2 separate regions of the Homo sapiens genome follow, and region 1 is linked to region 2. The links are contacts of gene promoters, found by promoter capture Hi-C in blood cells and fetal thymus (Javierre and others, 2016). All regions are on one chromosome and are shown on one strand. The core of a region is centred on a gene start or on the middle of the fragment in contact, and the rest is flanking DNA. Distances in the headings are between cores, read along the strand shown.

Evidence for each region. The method cuts DNA at HindIII sites, captures the fragments that hold promoters and counts their contacts. A CHiCAGO score of 5 or more calls a contact.
Region 1: the fragment with the promoter of THAP1 here is called in contact with the fragment with the promoter of GOLGA7 in region 2 in 5 of 17 cell types (fetal thymus, naive CD4 T cells, naive CD8 T cells and 2 more); the score reaches 6.3 in fetal thymus.

Annotation. Positions count from the first base shown.
Region 1 is chr8:42,841,742-42,848,571 of GRCh38, forward strand. It overlaps THAP1 (THAP domain containing 1), which reads right to left and starts at 1,584. Exons shown (of 3, transcript NM_018105.3): 1 at 1,283-1,584. The coding sequence starts at 1,353. It overlaps LOC124901940 (a long non-coding RNA gene), which reads left to right and starts at 1,193. Exons shown (of 2, transcript XR_007060901.1): 1 at 1,193-1,642; 2 at 2,026-3,671. RefSeq lists enhancers at 1,177-1,967, 1,303-1,662 and a silencer at 1,183-1,272. The HindIII fragment of the contact is 1,565 bases long and covers 779-2,343 here.
Region 2 is chr8:41,489,030-41,495,498 of GRCh38, forward strand. It overlaps GOLGA7 (golgin A7), which reads left to right and starts at 1,553. Exons shown (of 5, transcript NM_001002296.2): 1 at 1,553-1,936. The coding sequence starts at 1,826. RefSeq lists a silencer at 1,184-1,443 and enhancers at 1,494-1,623, 1,914-2,023, 2,074-2,183. The HindIII fragment of the contact is 7,658 bases long and covers 1-4,137 here.

The DNA.
Region 1 (6,830 bases), core at 334-2,833, 1.4 Mb after region 2:
TCCCTACATTTAGAAAGAACATGTTTACAGAAATTCCAATTAAATCAAGAGATAATATTAGGATATCCTGAACTGAATCCTCTAAGTGTTCTATCCCCTTCTCCAAGGGGTAACATTATTACTCTGGAGACCTCTCTATGTTCTACACACTCTTATTTCTATAGGGTCCATCTCACATGATATCAAACATATTTAAAAAATGCATGGACACTCCCCTAGTAAACACAGATGGCCCCACAGCAAAAAAATAAATTAACTGAAAAGATATTTAACATTTTGCTTTTGTAATTATTTACCTAATTATAAAAGATAATTAGCTAATTACCTATGGCTAATCTGTATAGTTTACCCCTGGATCTGATTTCTTACCTATCATCTGCGTATAGCTGTCAGGAATTCTTGCAAAGAAAACTTAACATAAATGTAATTAAAATTTGTAAACAAATTCAGCTGAATGAAAATGTTATGTCACATTTTACAAGCGTTTATCATAAGTAATTACAACTCTGCACTTTTTTCCTATTTTCAAGAGAATATTTTTGATCCTATCACTTAACTGTGCTACCTACTGGATAAGACAGCTCTGAAAGCTGTGGGGCAGTTTCTTTCGAAAGAGCTTTCTCTATGCACAGGTAATGCCATAATAAATAAAGATCCGTGTGAGTCATTTTATTATGATCCATGTTGTAACTGTCCATATTATCATTATTGTGTGCTGAAAAGATAACGATTTATCTCGGCAGTACCTGAAGCTTTCTCCAAAATACAGGGTCCTTAAAGCTTAGTTCCTAGAGATTGGGGGCAAAAATTCTCCCTGATTTCCCAGCCAAAAAACCCTTAATTGCTACGATGCTGGCCTCCCATCCACGGCAAGGGCGAAAAGTAGTGATTTCTTCGTTTAAAGGCCTTTGTTTCTATTTTAAATTTACCCCTAAGACCATATTAAAACACCTGGCTGCTCTGTGACCCTGGTGGTGGCAAAACCCGCGCCACCCTAGGCATCGCCCGTGGGCTCCGAACGCGTCAACCCAGGCCGTGAGCGAAGCCTGCAACCAGGGCCTGTTCCAGGAGCGCGAGAAACGGCTGCCGCGGCGACGCGCGCCGAGAACGCGCGATCGGGCGGCGGTTCCCAGCGGGACGCGGTGGGAAACGCCCGACACGGCCGGCCCCAGACCCCACCCGCCCCTCGCGCGGACACGCGCCTGGCTCCGCCCCCGGCCCCGCCGGCCGCGCGCCCCCACCCCGGCTGAGACCGGCCCCGCGAGGCGCGCAGGGTCCTCACTTGTGGAAAGAAACGGGCTTGTCCTTGTCGTAGCGGTTCTTGCAGCCGTAGGCGGAGCAGGACTGCACCATCCTTCCGGTCCTCAGGCACTTCACTTCTGCCGCCGCAGAAGGCAGGGGAAGCTGTTCTCAGTGTCGCTGCGCTCGGTTGGATTCCCTCGCTTCTTTTGTAGCTTTGGCCAACAGTTACAGTGATGGTGGCCTCCCTCGGGGGTGACTAGTGTGCCCGTTTTGTTGTTTGCATTAGCAGAAGGACCACAGCCATCGCCCGTCTCCCATCTCCAAGATGGCGGAGGCAGCTTCAACCTCACCTCTCGCGAGGGGTGCGTCCCACTGTCTCTGATTAGCCCCGAGGTCAGAGGTAACGTTTCCTGGGAAGCTAACTATTGGCTGAGGCCAGGTGTTTCCGGCGGTGGCTTCAGAGTTGCCGAAGTGGGCGGAGCCCTGAGCTTCCGGCAGGCAGGAAGGAACTGCTTGTGGGGGGAGGAGGCGCGGCGGGAGGCCGGATTCCTGGGGCATCCTCCAGCCCCGGGCTGTTCCCGTGGGTTAATTGATGCGGACCTTTTCTGGGGCAGCTTACAGTAGGGAACAACTAGGGCCTCTTGGAGAACAGGTGTAAAGCCGAGGTCGTTGGCTGATTGCGCCCATTTCTTTAAAAGGGCGGACACAGATGGTGTATGATTAATAAAATTGTGGAACCTTTTCCCAGAGTGCTAATCTTTATCCCATTACCTGTGTCTTCAGGTATCACAAGTTTCTGTGAGAGCCAACGTGACAGATTTTTAGCAATGAAAAAAGACACACTCGCCAAATCATCTCAATTGCCAACGCAGAAGCGTTTTATATATATGTATGTATATGTATGTATATATGTGTGTATGTATATATGTGTGTGTGTATGTATATATATATATATATATGTAATTTTTTAAATAAATAGAGGCGTTGTCTCCCCACGTTGCCCAGGTCAGTCTGGAACTCGAGCTCAAGGGATCCTCCCATCTCGACCTCCCCATGGGTTGGGATTACAGGAGTTGAGCCACCAGGCTGTCCCTCCCCAGAAGCTTTTCTGAAGGCTCTCCATTGCTGTGATTTCCATGTGCTGTGTTGCAAATAGCGAACTGCTGCAGCAATTTTCACACCTGAGAGAGAATATGTTAGAGGGGTTCGAACTAGAGCGACTCTGTGTTGAGTGAGGGCTAGGAAAATGAGGCTGGGACTTGCTGGGCTGCATTCCCGGGAAGTTAGGTATTCCTAGCCTCTAGATGTGTATACCATTAAGGCAACAGATTGATAATGTTTACTACACAGACCCAGACTACCAAGTGTCCAGATATCCCGATATTTTGAGAACAGAAGCATTCCTAATTTTGCTTTAAAGATAATAATATTGGGCTGGGCACAGTGCCTCACGCCTGTAATCCCAGCACTTTGGAAGGCCGAGGCGGGCGGATCACTTGAGGTCAGGAGTTCAAGACTAGCCTGGTCAACATGGTGAAAACGTCTCTACTAAAAATACAAAAATTAACCGGGTGTGGTGGCACATGCCCTCGAATTTCAGCTACTCTGGAGGCTGAGGCAGGATAATCGCTTGAATCCGGGAGGCGGGGGTTGCAGTGAGCCGTGCTTGCACCACTGCACTCCAGCCTGGGCGACAGAGTAAGACTCTGTCTCATAAATAAAGATAATATCGATTCTTACATAATATAGTAATTAATCCTTTATCACAAACCCTTGTAGCAAAGCACATCTCCCCATGATCTTTTTTTATCCTATATATAAACTAAGTGTTGTACTTAGGGTGGACGCGTTCCTCCTCTTACTTTCGGGAATGCCCTACTCTGTCTGTGGAGTAGCTGTACTTTCACCACTTTACGTTCTTAATAAACTTGCTTTTGCTTTGTACTGTGGACTTGCCCTGAATTCTGTCTTGCGTGAGATCCAAGAACCCTGTCTTGGGGTCTGGATTGGGACCCCTTTCCTGTAACAGTTTTACTTCATTCCCTGCTCCTTTTCTTTATATAGATCTGAGCCAGGCAGACCTGGAGAGCGGACTGTTGAGTAATCCCTTGGCCCTTATTCTCTACCTTTCCTGCCCTTTTAAATGTTGCTGTTTCCCCAGGGTTCCATCTTCTGCCCTCCTCTAACTCCTAAACACCCTGCTCCTTAAACTGAACCAAATACCATAATTCTCTCATCTTTTATTTCCTTTGTATATCCGTTCTGCCTTTGGGATTATCATCTGTGAATTATCATCTGTGAATTATCTGTTCAACAGTTGTCTAAACCAGAAACCTTGGAGTCATCTTGGATTTTTTTTGTCACCCATAAAACCCGTTGATGACCAGGTTAATTTTGTAGACTAAATAAATAAATGCCCCTTAAATCCATCCCTCTTCATGTCTCCTCACTGTTGTTGTTGTTTTTTTTTTTGTTTTTTTTTTTGAGAGGGAGTCTCACTCTGTCGCTCAGTCTGGAGTGCAGTGGCACAATCTCAGTTCACTGCAACCTCCGCCTCCTGGGTTCAAGCGATTATCCCGCCTCAGCCTCCTAAGTAGCTGGGATTACAGGCACCCGCCACCATGCCTGGCTAATTTTTGTATTTTTGTAGAGATGGGGTTTCACCATGTTGGCCAGGCTGGACTCGAACTCCTGACCTCAGGTGATACGCCTGCCTCGGCCTCCCAAAGTGTTGGGATTACAGGCGTGAGCCACTGCGCCCAACCCTCACTGTTCTTTAATTATTTTTATTATTATATTTAACAGAGATGAGGTCTCACTGTGTTGCCCAGGCTGGTCTCAAACTCCTGGGTTTAAGCTATCTGTCAGCCAGGGCCTCCCAAAGTCCTGGGACTACAGGCGTGAGCCACGGCACCTGGCCTCCTCACTGTTCTTGACCAAGCTCTCATGGTCTTAACCTTGCAGCAACCCCTTAACTATCCTAGTCTCCAGTTTTACCTCTCTCCATTCTATCTTCTATAGAAGGGTGGTGCATGCCTGCCACGCCCTTGCTCATATCCTTCCAAGGCTACCTGCTGTACTGAATAAAATCCAAACTTCTTATGGTGAATTATAAAGCTCTTTAAGACCAAGTACTTCTACTCTTCCACCATCATCTCCCTCCACTTGTCTTTACCTTTGTTCCGGCTTTATGTCTTAGAGGGTAGGCTCTTTTGTGGTTTCTTTAAATAGGCTGTTTTCCTTGGCTTGAAATGCCCATCCCTGACCTGTCCACCCTTAAGATGTGGCTTAATGGCCTGGTGCAGTGGCTCACGCCTGTAATCCCAGCACTTTGGGAGGCTGAGGCGGGTGGATCACATGAGCCCAGGTGTTCAAGGCCAGCCTGGGCAACATAGTGAGACCCTGTCTCTACAAAAAAAATACAAAAATTAGCCAGGCATGTTGGCACACACCTGTAGTCCCAGATACTTGGGAGGCTGAGTTGAGAGGATTCCTTGAACCCAGAAGGTTGAGGCTGCAGTGAGCTGTGGTCATGCCTTTGTACTCCAGCCTGAGCAAACAGAATGAGACCCTGTCTCAAACAAGCAAACCAACAGTTACCATGAGCTGGGTGTCAGGGCTCAGGAGGCTGAGGCAGGGACTCAAGGCAGCCTGGACAGCAGAGTGAGACCCTGTTTCTAAAAAGTTGTTTTTAATTGGTCAGGTATGGTGGTGCATGCCTGTAGTTCCAGCTACTTGGGAGGCTGAGGCAAGGAGGATCCCTTGAGTCCAGGAGTCTGAGGCTGCTGGAGTGTGAGCTATGATCATGACAGTGAGATCCCATCTCTAAATTTTATACACATACACATACACACACAGATATGTATTGCTAAAAAAAAAAGCTAATGATCACCTGAGCCTTCAGCAAATGGTGATCTTTTTGTTGATGGAGAGTCTTGCCTTGATGTTGATGGCTGCTGACTGATCATGGTTGCTGAAGGTTGAGGTGGCTGTGGCAAGTTCTTAAAATGAGACAACAATGAAGTTTGCTGCATCGATTGACTCTTCCTTTCATTAAATATTTCTCTGTAGCAAGTAATGCTGTTTAATAGCATTTTGGTCACAGTAGAACTTCTTTAAGAATTGGAGTTAATCCTCTCAAACCCTGCCACTGCTTTATCAACTAGGTTTATTTAATATTCAAAATATTCTAAATCCGTTGTTGTCATTTCAACAATGTTCACAGCATCTTTGCCAGAAGTAGATTCCATCTTCATAAACTACTTTATTTGCTCATCTATAAGAAGCAACTCCTCATCTGTTCAAGTTTTATCATGAAATTGCAGCAACTCAGTCACATCTTCAGGATCCACTTTTAATTCTAGTTCTCTTGTTGTTTCTATCACACTTGCAGTGACTTCTTCCACCAAAGTCTTGAACAACTCAAAGCCATTCATGAGGGCTGGAGTCAATTTCTGCCAAACTCCTGTTAATGTTGATATTTTTCCTCCCATGAATTATTGATGTTCTTCAGGGCATCTAGAATGATGAATCCTTTCCAGAAGGTTTTCTACTGACTTTGCCCAGATCCATCAGAGGAGTCACTATCTATGGCAGCTATAGGCTTACAAAATTTATTTCATAGGTAATAAAACTTGGAAGTCAAAATACTCCTTGATTTATGGGGCTGCAGAATGGATGTTGTGTTACAGGCATGAAAACAACATTCATCTCCTTGTACATCTCCATTAGAGCTCTTGGGTGACCAGGTGCATTGTCAATGAGCAGTATTATTTTGAAAGGAATTTTTTTTTCTGAGCAGTAGGTGTAACAATGGACTTAAAATATTAAGTGAACCATGCTGTAAACAGATGTGCTGTCATCCAGGCTTTATTATTCCATTTATTGAGCACAGGCAGAGTAGATTTACCATTGTTCTTAAGACCAATAGGATTTTTGAAATGGTAAGTGAGCATTGGCTTCAACTTAAAGTCATCAGTTGCATCAGCCCCTAACAAGGGAGTCAGCCAGTCCTGTGACACTTTGAAGCCAAGCACTGAATTCTCCTTCCTGGCTACTAAAAGTCCTAGATGGCATCTTCTTCCAATAGAAGCCATTCTATCTACATTGAAAATCTGCTGTTAGTGTAGCCACCTTCATTAATTATCTGAGCTGGATCTTCTGGAGAACTCACTGCAGCTTCTCCATCAGCACTTGCTGCTTCACTTTGCACTTTTATATTATGGAGATGGCTTCTTGTCTTAAACCTCCTGAACCGACCTCTGCTAGCTTACAACTTTGTTCTGCAGTTTCCTCACCTCTCTCAGCCTTCACAAAATTGAACAGAGTTGGGGGGGATTTGGTTTAAGGGAAGACCATTTAAACTTTTTTTCTTTTGAGACTGAGTCTCGCTCTGTAGCCCAGGCTGGAGTGCAGTGGCGCAATCTCTGCTCACTGCAACCCCCACCTCCCAGGTTAAAGCGATTCTCCTGCCTCAGCCACCCATGTAGCTGGGATTATAGGCGCGCACCACCACACCCAGCTAATTTTTATATTTTTAGTAGAGACTGGGTTTCACCATGTAGGCCAGGCTGGTCTCGAACTCCTGA
Region 2 (6,469 bases), core at 303-2,802:
ATGTGGAGCAACTGGAACTCTGGTGGGAATGCAAAATGGTGTCACCACTTTGGAAAACAGTTTGTCAGTCTGCCAAAAAGTTAAACGTGTTTTTACCGTACAATCTAGCCATTCTACTCCTAGGTATGTACCCAAGAGAAATGAAAGCATTAAGGTCTACACACCTATGCAAAGACTTGCAAATGAATGTCCATAGCAGCTTTATTTGTAACATCCCAAAACTGGAAGCAATCCAAATGTCCATCAACAGATGAATGGATAAACAAACTGTGGGATGGCCATACAATGGAATAGCTATCCAGCATCAAAAATAAATGAATTATTGATAACACAACAACAGATGGACTTCAAAATAGTCTATGTGAAAGAAGCCAGGCAAAAAAAGGGGGTACACACTATATGATTCAATTTATATAAAATTCAAGGAAATGAAACTAATGTTGAGTGACAGAAGGTGGATCAGTGCCTGGGAAATGGGGTCTGGGAGAGGCAGGAGGGAGAGATTACACAGGAGCTGGAGGAACCTTTTCAGGGCAATGGAGCTTTACTATCTTGATTGTGACAGTGGTTTATGGGTGTATTCATATGTCCAAAGTTATCAAATCCACTGCTTTAAATGTGTGGTTTATTGTATGCCATTTATATCTCGAAAAAGCTGTTTTTAAAATACAGTAAGAGAATTTTTCATATTTAAAAGGCAGGATATTTAAACTATATTAAATATATAAAAGACAGTGGTACTAACAGGTTGTATTAGCAGGAGACAAGGGTAAGGTGGGGTTTCTTTGGCTGCCTTGCAAAGAAATGCTGAGTCAAGTAAGGGCCAGTGGGCAACGAGGGCGGAACCACTTGTCCCCTTGGTCACCTGAGGGATGTGGATGGGAGCTGGGTGGAAATGGGGGGTGAGAGGAACGCCGCCCCCAAAGAAGAGTCGGGGCAGGGGCGCCCAACGCTGGGGCCCAGGCAGGTTCTTCGTCCTCACTTCCTGACCCTTTCTCAAGAGTCTAGGGACCAAATGGATCCATCCTTGGAGCCTGCTTTCTACTTCTGAACACAATGAGCAGTTTGTGTTTGAGGGTTTGGGGAGGGGGTGTTGTTTTTTCTTTATGTTTTGTTTTTTGTTTTGTGTATGAGTTGGGTGGCATAACCCACACGTAAGCTGCGACGTCCAATCAAGAACGAAAATGACCCCTCACAATCAGTGATCGGGAACCACCTGCCACAATCACTAGGGAAGTGACACAGCCGGGAAACTCCGCCCCTCACACCCCCGCGCGCTCGCGCCGGCCGCAGCCCCACAGCTCGCCCCGGCCGCAGCCCCACAGCTCGCCCCGCCTCTCTCCTTCCGGAAACAATCCCCGCGCGGGCGGAAGGCGGGGTCGGCCCTGGCCCCGCCCACATCATTTCCCTTCCTCGGCCCAGCCCCACAGCGCGCAGCTTCGGCAGGGTGGCTTTACGGCCGGAGGAGAGGGTGGGTCCCAGACCTGAGGTAGGAGGCCGAGCTGAGGGGCGGGGAAGAGGCTTTTTGCGGCAGGACGTAAGTGACGGCGAAGGCGGTGCGACAGCAGCTGGAGGGCAGAGGAGGCGGGTTTGTGTTTCCCGGGCCGAACCGGGTTGTGGGGGGCGCGGGGCCTGGGCCAGGCGGCAGCTAAGGCCCGCGGTGACAGCATGGGTGAAGGGGAGCGGGGCAGAGGAGGCCTTGGGCTGTTTTCGGCGGCGGGTGGGGGCGAGGGGCTGGCGGGTCAGAGTCCCGGGTCCAGGCCGGGGCTCTGACTCGCGGTTGGTGTTCCCCCGACCCCGCAGCGCGGGGTGTCCTGTCCTCGCCATGAGGCCGCAGCAGGCGCCGGTGTCCGGAAAGGTGTTCATTCAGCGAGACTACAGCAGTGGCACACGCTGCCAGTTCCAGACCAAGTTCCCTGCGGAGCTGGAGAACCGGGTACGCAACCTGGCTCCCCACGCCTGCTCTGGCGAGGGAGAGAGACTCACCGGGGACGGGAAGGGTGTGGGCGACAACCGGGCCTTTGAGGGTCCCGCAGTTCTGGGGAGGTCCAGGCACAGAAGGGGCCTTGGCCAAACGTGTAAGAAGAGAGCCACTAAGCAAGACAGGTGTTTGGAGCAGGAAGAATAATATAGGCCGATCGCCGGGGTTGACGACCTTATGGAACTTTGTTGCCCGGTGCCGGGAATCTGGATCCAGCAGTGTTCCCCTGCTGCACTCCCCCAAATCCCCACCCCGGGTTATTGTCGGCAGCGATGAGGAGCCAATTCCTGAGGCTCCAGGTCGTCTCAGTCACCAGGTTGTAAACTATATCCTCCTACCTCTCCGCGCAAGATAAATCATCATCATTCTCGTGACTGGTGTTTGCTGCCTCTGTGCTGGCCGCACTGTTTGGCTGAAAGGGTTTATTAGGTGCATGGCCAGGCGGTGCGTTCAGGCTTTCTTGGAACCTTAAAGACGTCGGGCGTTAGATAGGCCTGGACAGGAAAATGTCTCAGAACAAGGCCTTAAACTTGTCACATTCACTGGGAGCCACCTGTTTTGTCTTGCATATCAAAATGGTCATCAGGATATAGGTCCTTTGGGCAACATTGCAGGCAAAAATGGAAGAATGGGATTTGCTTCCCCTTCAGACCTAGCAAAACTTTAAAAAAAAAAAAAAAATCATTGTATCTTGTTGTAGAGGTAATGGAGTGTGTGCGTGCCTGCCTGTGTTTTTGTGTGCCCACATATGTACATTCAACCAAAGATTCTTTTGGTCTTGACCCATGTTATGTAGATTGTGTTTCCCGTTCAGGGATCAATTTCTGGTTAGCTGGAAGCAGGTTTTGTGGCTCTCTCCTCTGTGACAGGGAGGACGAGGGCCTGAGAGGTGATTAGGCATTCCTTGGGTGTGGGACTGAGAGATGCTGGTCATGGGATAAGTGGGTGTGGATGAGTCTGTGTAGAGAAATGTGTAGCAGTTATTTACAGTCAGTTTGCAGTGAGGTGGGTTGCACTGCCCGATTTCCATGGTTGGGAAATCAACAATGATCCATTATAGTTTCCTTCAGTTTGACATAACCATGGGCAGCTTCATGGCCCAAATATGTTTCTTGAATTGCAAATGGATCAAATATGCCTTTAAAAGATGGTGAGGTGACTTGTTTCTGAAATGCCATTTAAATGCTGCAGTATGTTGTCAACTATGTTATGAGTTAACTGAGCGTGACAATAGGTGGAACTATCTACAGTGGTTTGAAGAGGTAGAAATTCAGCAAGTGGCCAGTTGGGTAGAGCTACTGAATGTTGTTTTAAAATAATTTAACATCACAATTGATGTGTTTTACATGTTAAGATTGACATGGAATCTGGCTGGGCCCGGTGGCTCACGCCTGTAATCCCAGCACTCTGGGAGGCCGTGGCGGGTGCATCACTTGAGGTCGGGAATTCAAGACCAGCTTGGCCAACATGGTGAAACCCCATCTCTACTAAAAATACAAAAATTAGTCAGGCATGGTGGCGGGCACCTGTAATCCCCGCTACTCAGGAGGCTGAAGTAGAAGAATTTCTTGAACCTGGGAGGCGGAGGTTGCAGTGAGCCGAGATCATGCCATTGTACTCCAGCCTGGGCGACAGAGCAAGACTCTTGTCTCAAAAAATAAATCAAATAAAAAGATATACATGGAATCAATCAAATGTTTTATTTTTAAGCCTCTTACGGAAACTATGACATACAATTTATGTACTTCAAAATCAGAATATAAAGTATTCTTTTTTTACCACAATTATTTGGACATTAAAGATTCCTTTGCTTTAAGGTTTTAAAGCAACACTTACACCTCATATATTTGAGCTAAATGTGTATACACAGAATCAGACATTAGCCTTCCACTCTGTGTGTGGCAGAGCCTTTATTTTGTAATCTAAGTGCAAAAGCACAATGTAGTTACTGTGCTCCACTGATTCTTGTCAGGAAATTGATGTTTCTAAATTCTGGAGTCCTTTTACCTCTTTGACTCTGTATAGCCCAGAACTGCTTGTGGTACTGAGTACTATATGGAATGTTACATGGCACTCTTCAATTGTGCCTTTGAATTTCTTTTTTCTTTTTAAATGTTTGGGTTAAAACACTAGCTTATGCTTTAAACCACTAGAAAAGCTTTGATTGTCTGTGTATGTGTGTTGAGATTAAATTTAAATTACAGGTTTAAACTTTCCTTGCTTTGATGAAAAATTGAAAGGTTTCTGTTTCTCTACTACTTACCCTAGAAATTTTACTGATTGCTCTGCTATTGGAGCTGATTTTCCTTTTGTGAGAACATCACACTTGGCAACATAATAGAGAAAGTGACTAATATGCAAGTGTTTTGTATTATTTTAAAGCATTTTTTAAAAATACACACACATTTGTGCCCTTTAATTTGGGAGTAGGATAGGTTCTGTCTGTTAACAAGTTCATTTTCTCTGCTGCCTTTTAGAATGTAATACTTTGATGCTTAAGCGATTTGTTGCCAGAACAATTCCTTAAAGGAAACTTTATTCTCATTAGCCTTAAAATACAGATATCTTAGTTACCCTTGGTCTGGGTAGAAGAATGAGTGAACTGTAATTGAGGCATTTTTTCCCTTTAAAAATATGTCTCCCCATCTGGTTAGTAATTACCTTTGACCTGCCACCCTTGATACGTGATCACTGCATGCTTCACCATGCTTTCTACTGTGTAGTTCACAGTAATTCTGGGAAAATAAGCCTGATTTCTCTTTCCATTCTGATTTTTGATGTTTGTGGGTCCAAATTTTATTTGGCTGTGACTTCTCATATATCTAAATTTTGATAGAGCTCCTGTATCAGTGTCCAGGAACCTAAGGGAGAACACTGGCCACTGTTATTCATAGCCTAAAGGTAGTAAGATACAAATGCCAACATTTGTTCTCTTGAGCCCTTTCTTGTGAAGTTTGTCGTTTGCCTTTATTGATGCCTTCTGTGATTTTTACCCTTTATTTCCCTTTTTTAAAATAACCTTTCAAAAACTTGTTGGCATTTACTTTTCTTTAACCATTTATCCTTTCTTTTTCTTTTTTTATTAACCTTTTTTTGTTTGTTTGTTTAACTGACGTATGATTTACCTCTAACCTATAGGGCATTGTAATCTCGGAATAACGCATAAGAATTAAGTGTTTCTGGCTGGGCATGGTGGTTTGCACCCAAGTAATCCCAGCTGCTCTGGGGGTTGAGGTAGGAGTATCCCTTGGGGCCAGGAGTTCAAGACCAGTCTGGGCAACATAGCGATACTCTGTCACTAAACTTAAAAAATAATAATAATTAGGGTTTCCGGGATAAACAGTAATTCTGATATGAAAGAAATAAGATGTTTCTGGGTTGAATCCCATGGTTTTGAATTGTATTGTAAAGAAATATAAATAATTCAATGACTTATAACATAGGCACATCAAATGTGATTGGAATTATTTAGACTTTTGTAGACTTATCGGTGGACAAACTGAAGGCATTAACGTAGGCATAATTAGGTGAACGTAACAGCTTACCATTTTTGTTTGCTGAGCTCTCCTCAGTCTGTTTTCGTGAATGAGAACTCACAGTTTCCCAGATGACCAGCCTTGACACCACATCTACAAGGGGTAGCTCAGTGAAGAAACACTGCCCCTGCGTTTAAAGGCCGTCTTGACCCACCTAGCCTTTGTCCAAATCTCTAATATTCCTGGAAATTTAAAGTAACTCCTTTTGAAAAATGGGTAGAGCCAACACCACTTTAAAGTTTGCATTAAATTCATGCATGCCACTAGCCCATTGACTCCTCACATTTTCCACACAACGGACAAAACAATGACTACAACTGCTTCTAACTTAAAGAGTTGTCATAGCTTAAGGATGGTCATGAATTGTTTTACACTTTAAAAGATTATGTTCTTGAGGCCAGGTGCAGGTGGCTCTTTGGGAGGCCAGGGGGGTGGATCACATGAGGCTAGGAGCCTGAGACCAGCCTGGCAACATGGCAAAACCTCGTCTCTACTAAAAATACAAAAATTAGTAGGGAATGGTGGTGCACGCCTGTAATCCCAGCTACTCGGGAGGCTGAGACACGAGAATCACTTGATCCTGGGACCAGAGGTTACAGTGAGCCAAGATTGCGCCACTGCACTCCAGCCAGGGTGACAGAGTGAGACTCTGTCTCAAAAAAAAAAAAAAAAAAAAAAAAGATTACATTCTTGGGAATAGTGAATAGTAGGGCTCATACTGTATGTTGAGGGTTTTTTTTCTTTCTTTCTTTTTTTGAGACAGGGTCTCACTCTGTCACCCAGACTGGAGTGCAGTGGTGAGATCTCAGTTCACTGCAACCTCCACTTCCCAGGCTCCAGCAATCCTCCCACCTCAGCCTCCTGAGTAGCTAGGACTATAGGCATGCACCACCACGCCTGGCTAATTTTTGCATTTTTAGTAGAGACAGAGTTTCACCATGTTGCCCAGGCT